2 separate regions of the Homo sapiens genome follow, and region 1 is linked to region 2. Evidence: promoter capture Hi-C in 16 types of primary human blood cells and fetal thymus (Javierre and others, 2016). All regions are on one chromosome and are shown on one strand. The core of a region is centred on a gene start or on the middle of the fragment in contact, and the rest is flanking DNA. Distances in the headings are between cores, read along the strand shown.

Evidence for each region. The method cuts DNA at HindIII sites, captures the fragments that hold promoters and counts their contacts. A CHiCAGO score of 5 or more calls a contact.
Region 1: a contact is called between a fragment that was not itself captured here and the fragment with the promoter of IPP in region 2, in 1 of 17 cell types (M1 macrophages). The highest score is 5.1, in M1 macrophages.

Annotation. Positions count from the first base shown.
Region 1 is chr1:45,873,862-45,876,989 of GRCh38, reverse strand. The region is part of intron 3 of MAST2 (microtubule associated serine/threonine kinase 2); the gene reads right to left. LOC105378694 (a long non-coding RNA gene) reads left to right here. Exons shown (of 5, transcript XR_001738038.2): 3 at 151-297; 4 at 2,237-2,351. Among named protein-coding and RNA genes, the nearest start is that of MAST2, 72 kb to the right of the region's middle. The HindIII fragment of the contact is 1,636 bases long and covers 845-2,480 here.
Region 2 is chr1:45,749,321-45,752,460 of GRCh38, reverse strand. IPP (intracisternal A particle-promoted polypeptide) reads left to right here and starts at 1,808. Exons shown (of 9, transcript NM_005897.3): 1 at 1,808-1,864. LOC105378693 (a long non-coding RNA gene) reads right to left here and starts at 1,512. Exons shown (of 3, transcript XR_947290.2): 1 at 1,213-1,512. RefSeq lists a silencer at 1,698-1,967. The HindIII fragment of the contact is 27,355 bases long and covers 1-3,140 here.

The sequences.
Region 1 (3,128 bases), core at 413-2,912, 120 kb before region 2:
ATATAAAACTGGAAATATTTGTTCTTTGAATCTACATGACAGTTCTGACTTCTTGAATAGTTTAAATGGGTAATATGGTAGACTACAGTTTTGGCTAACAATAATAAAATTTCCTAAAATGCATATATGCCCCTCTCTGCATTCCTTTAGAGGCACGGAAGCGCATCCGTGGAAATCCATCCCTTCCGACTTCCTTACACCTATACAAAAGCCTGCATTTGATGCCCAGGACTCCAGATCAGTACATTCTGTGACAACTAAGGCACAGTGGAACAAGAAGGGCCCAACCACATAAAGGTAGTCCAAGGAGCAATGATTTCTCAATCCTCCTTTTCCCAGGGAATATTCACAGCAAGTTGGGGAGAAAAGCTACACAATCAGGAAACTTGGCTGAGGCAAGAGTACTCCCATTTAGACAGATAACCATAAATTATTTTACTCATAACCTTCCAGCAACTAGGCTGGTAATACCTGGTAATACATTACAATATCAGGTGAAGCCCATTCCATTCAGCCTTCTCTGATCTACTCATTATCTCTTGACTCTTCATGTTCTTAATGATCTTCCTGATTAGCATTCTGAACACATTCAAGTCTATTCCAGCTTCAGATAAGGAAATAAATTCCCTTAATAACTACACATCCCTCTTCAAATACTGCCTTATCAATTTTATTTCCCTTCACAACCACACTTCTTGAATGAGTTATCTACATCCAATGTCTCTAATTTCTCACTTCCTACTCATTCTTCAACACTCTATAAATATCCCTAGACCTTACCAGCCCATTTAAACCATTCTTGGCACACTGCCAATGTAATGTATAACGCCAGGGTAATGAAGCTTCACTGCATTTTTAGTCCACCTATCTTTTTTGGCTCCACTGCTCAACAGCACCTGATAGTATCATTCACTCTTCTGTCCTGGAAGACTTTTCTTGCCATGAAGCCACATTCTCTTGTTTTTCCTCTTATCCCCGCAAACACACCATTTAAACATCTTTGCAGGCTCATCCTTCATCACCTTAGACCCTTAAATGGGGACTGTCCTTTTAGTTCTGCTTGTACACTCTCCTTTCTCTATATATTTTACAATCTCAAATTTGTATCTCTATCCCAGATCTTTTTGCTGACCTCTATAGTTGTACATACAACTACCTTGTCCTTAATATGTCTAAAACTCAGCTGATCTTTCTACTCAGTCTCGCTCCTTCTCTGTTCTCTATTTTGATGATGGTACCACCAAACCCAGGGTCATTCTTCATTTTTCACTTTCTCTCACTCTCTACATCCATTATTCATCAAGCTCGGCCAATTCTACTTCCAAAATATCTATCTTTAATCTGTCAATTCACTTCTACTTCCCCGGGCACAAGCCACCATCATCCTATAACATCCTCCTAATTGGTCTCCCTTTCATTCAGTTTTGTCCCCCTTGATTAATGTTATATCAATGTAAATATCATATATAGTACCTGTTTTCTGAGTGATAACTGTGGGTATAATGAAATAAATACTGAAGTCAAAAATAACTTTTTATTTTTTTGAGATGAAGTCTCGTTCTGTCACCCAGGCTGGAGTGCAGTGGCGCGATCTTGGCTCACTGCAACCTCCGTCTCCCAGGTTCAAGCGATTCTCCTGCCTCAGCCTCCCAAGTAGCTGGGATTACAGGCATGCGCCACCACGTCCGGCTAATTTTTGTATTTTTAGTAGAGACAGGGTTTCCCCATGTTGGTAAGGCTGGTCTCGAACTCCTGACCCCAGGTGATCCACCTACCTCGGTCGCCCAAAGTGCTGGGATTACAGGCGTGAGCCACCGTGCCCGGCCAAAAATAACTTTTTTAAATGTGTCCTTTCTCTCTTATAATTCTGCAATGGATAAAGTCTAAAATCCTTTCTGTAGTCTACAGGGCACTACTTGGCTCTGACTGCCTCCCTCCTCAGTATCATTTGCATAATTCTCCAGTCTTATTGGAGTTTTGGACTCAGACTTGCCATGCTTTCTTTCACCTTCAGGTCTTCACACTTACTGTTCTCCTGGTCTGGATTACTTTTCTTTATCTCTTTTTATACATTCCTGGACTTCAGCTTAAACTTCGTTTCCTCTGGCAAGTTTTTCTACAGTTTCCCCAGCCTCCTTCCATATATTATCCAAATATTCCTTTAATTCCTCAATCATACCTACTTCACTGGTTACTATAATTATTTGCTAAATTATCTGTTTTCTTTGACTGTTAGCTCCAGGAGAGTAGGAATTAGTCTTGCTCTCAAGGACATTCCTGGCACCCAGCAGAATACCTAGCCTAGTAGGCAACAAATGAATACTGGATGAATAAATCTATGAATCCATCAAGTAAGTAAATGGTTCATACTATTATTGTTATCATCATTATAAGGCAATTATAAGACAATAGGGTCCTGCCTACCAGTTTGGAGTTGCATTGATGAAAACTATCAATTGCAATAATTTCAGCAAGAAGCTTTACTAGGGGAAGAATATGCTCTATTATCACATATTATTTACTGACAGTCTCCTGGCTGGTAGTTACTCCATGGAGAGTCGGAATGCTTTAAGAAGAGAAAAATATTACCGAGGAAGAAAATCTATGTTAATATCATTTACTATCTAGTCTTAAAAGGAACATTATCTCCTGACCTCGTGATCCACTTGCCTCCGCCTCCCAAAGCGCTGGGATTATAGGCGTGAGCCACCATGCCTGGTCAAGAACACAAAATTTAAAGTTTGGAAAACTAGGCTTCTGTCGTGGCTCAAAAACATGTAACTGTGTGACCTGGGATTCCATCTACCTCAAAGGCTTAGATACAGCAGTTGTAAAAGTCAAATAAAGTAACGTACATGAAAATACTTTAGACCAGTCACAGTGGCTCACACCTGTAATCCCAGCACTTTGGGATGCCGAGGCGAGAGGATTGCTTGAGCTCAGGAGTTCGAGACCAGACTGGGCAACATGGTGAAACCCCATCTCTACAAAAACTACAAAAAATAGCTGGGCATATTGGCATGTGCCAGCAGTCCCAGCTACTCAGGGGGCTGAGGTGGGAAGATCACTTGAGCTTGGGAGGCAGAGGCTGCAGTAAGCCAAGATCACACCACTGCACTCCAGCCTGG
Region 2 (3,140 bases), core at 559-3,058:
GGTATGAGAAGAATGGCCCAATCTGTATGCTTAACTTTCACAAGTGTAATCCAGAGTAAGTCATGAAATTGATTTTAGTAGTGCTGAAGTATAATTTTCTGAAGAGTAAAACCATGACTCTCTTACAAATATAAAAAAAAAGTATCAAATATTTTATTTATCTCATTAACTTATAAGGGAGCCAGTAAGATATTTAGGAATGTAGCATGAATTTGCTAAGAATCAGGAATGTTTAAATGAATTTGCTGAGAAGGGTAAAAATGGCTTAATATGCTACAGGTCAATAAAACAATGTTTTGGTGTATCTTTTCTACAGACGGGCAAGAATTATTTTAAGTACTACCAGTTTTCTGGTGAAATACTTTAGTCAATAGAAAGTCAGAGCTCCCTATGGATGCAAATCCGTCCAGCCTTACACTGAAAGGGCACACAGAATTCTCTTTTCCTCATTTCCAAGTCTTTGACAATGTTTGCTGACAATAGGTCCCTGTTAGCAGTTTTTGGTAATGAAGTAGAAAAGAAGAAATAAAAATTTAGTGCACTGCGGGTCGTAAGTGTAAACATAGTTTTGTGAAGATTTTGTTTCAGGCCAGGCACAGTGGCTCACACCTCCCAGCACTTTGGGAGGCCGAGGCGGGCGGATCACTCGAGCCCAGGAGTTGGAGACCAGCCTGGTCAACATGGCGAAATCTTGTCTCTACTAAAAATACAAAAAATTAGCCTGGCGGTGGTGGCACAGGCCTGTAGTCCCAGCTACTCAGGAGGCTGAGGTGGGAGGACTACCAGAGCCCAGGAAGTCGAGGCTGCAGTGAGCCGAGATGGCACCACTGCACTCCAGCCTGGGCGACAAAGCCAGGCCCTGTCTCATAAAAAGAGAAAGAAATACACTTTGGGAGGCCGAGTCGGGCGGATCACCTGAGGTGGGGAGTTTGAGACCAGCCTGACCAACATGGAGAAACTCAGTCTGTACTAAAAATACAAAATTAGCCGGGCATGGTGGCGCATGCCTGCAATCCCAGCTACTTGAGAGGCTGAGGCAGGAGAATCGCTTGAACCCAGGAGGCGGAGGTTGCGGTGAGCCGAGATCCGGCCATTGCATTCATTCTAGCCTGGGCAACAAGAGCGAAATTCCGTCTCAAAAAATAAAAAATAAAAATAAAAATAAAGAAATGAGATTTTATGTTAGATATATACTTCTATATATATACTCACAAGTATGTGGTATTGAGTTTGATGTAAAATATTTTTGTTCACCGTAGGCTGGGATCAAAACAGTTTGAAAGCCACTAATGTGACACATGAGGGTCAACAGTGAAAAAAACTGGACTTTTGAGTTCTTCCTTCCCCAAAATAAGTATCCCTTCAGTGCCAGGCTCAGTCATGCACTCAGAAAACGATTCGAGAGAACAGTAGAGAAGGACCGTGCCAGGTGTTCGGCTCGTCTCTGCTTAACTGAGATCCGCGGCCTTCTTGGGACACCACAAGAATCAGAGTGCAAGCGGAATGGAAAGGGCGAGCCAGCCGGCCCCAGCAGGCAGAAGCAGAGGCTTGCAGCTAAGCTGTTGATCCTTGGGGAAGCAAGCCCAAGCCCTGGGCCCCATCAGTGGGCACTGAGAGGCGCCAGCGGCCCAGTCTCCCGCGAGCGGAAGAACCTCGCGCACGCGCAGTGAAAACCCAGGGCCCGCGAAGCGTCCGAAGTCCCTTCCCACCGCCCGGCTTCGCCTCCAGTTCTCGGGGAACTGTACGGCCCAGTCACTCCCGCCTCGTCACCCCCGCCAGGTTTCCCCCGCCCTCTCCGGCCGGGGCTGGTCGCGACTGCGCGCGCAGGGCCTGAGCGGGCGCCGGAGGGAAGGGGAAGCGGCGGGTAAGGAGGGCCTGCGTTCGGGCGCGTCTGTGACGGGGTTGGGAACTTCCTCTTCTACTCCCTCCGGCTTTCCGGACCCCTGAGGACTGGAGTGAGAGAAGCCTCTAGAACTGTGTATTTCCTTGTCTTTCCTTCTGCCGCCGCAGGCCTTCCTCCGACAGTCTAAGTGTCGCCCTCCCCAGACCTTCTCGTCCGGACCGCTCCTGCCTCCCCCGCCCCAACTGGGGAATCCTGAGGCTGTGTCCCCAGTCCCTCTGTTGTCGCCTCGTTTGTCTGAGATCCCTTCCCTGACCTTTAGGTAGCGCAGGAACGATTATTAGCTTTTAGTGTAGCAGCAGTTTAGGGCTAGCTCTCTAGGCCGGGCCCCCAACTCAAGCACAAAGAACCACGGGTGTTTTGACACTTGTTCCGGGGATTCTTTCTGACACCCCTTTGCTGAAGCAGTTTCCACATGTTCCCAGCAGTGAATTCAAAGCCAGCAAACATAGGTCCGCTTTAGTTCCTCTGGGCATTTCTACCGTTTCCTAATAATCTGCTTTTTTTTTTGAGACAGTCTCGCCCCTTCTCCTAGGCTGGAATGCAGTGGTGCGATCACAACTCACTGCAGCCTCGACTTCTCAGGCTCTAGCGATCCTCTCACCTCAGCCTCCCAAGTAGCCGGAAGTACAGGCTTGCCCCATCACAGCCAGCTAATGTTAAAACAATTTTTTTTGCGGCGGGGGGCTCGCTGTATTGCCCAGGCTGGTCTTGAACTCTAGGACTCAAGCGATCCTCCCTGGCCGGGCGCGGTGGCTCACGCCTGTAATCCCAGCACTTTGGGAGGCCGAGGCGGGCGGATCACGAGGTCAGGAGATCGAGACCATCCTGGCTAACACGGTGAAACCCCGTCTCTACTAAAAATGCAAAAAATTAGCCGGGCGTGGTGGCGGGCGCCTGTAGTCCCAGCTGCTCGGGAGGCTGAGGCAGGAGAATGGCGTGAACCCGGGAGGCGGAGCTTGCAGTGAGCCGAGATCGTGCCACTGCACTCCAGCCTGGGCGACAGAGCGAGACTCCGTCTCAAAAAAAAAAAAACAAAAAACAAAAACAAAACAAAAAAAAAAAACAAAAAATCAAGCGATCCTCCCGACAGGACATCCCAAAGTGCTGGGGTTATAGGTGTGAGCCACCTTGCCCAGTCAACAATCTGCTTTTCAAGTTTGGGGCACGTGAGGCATGCAACGTCACAGAATTGTGCTCTTTTCCTTTGGAAATATGGTCACTCCACATGCCACCTTTT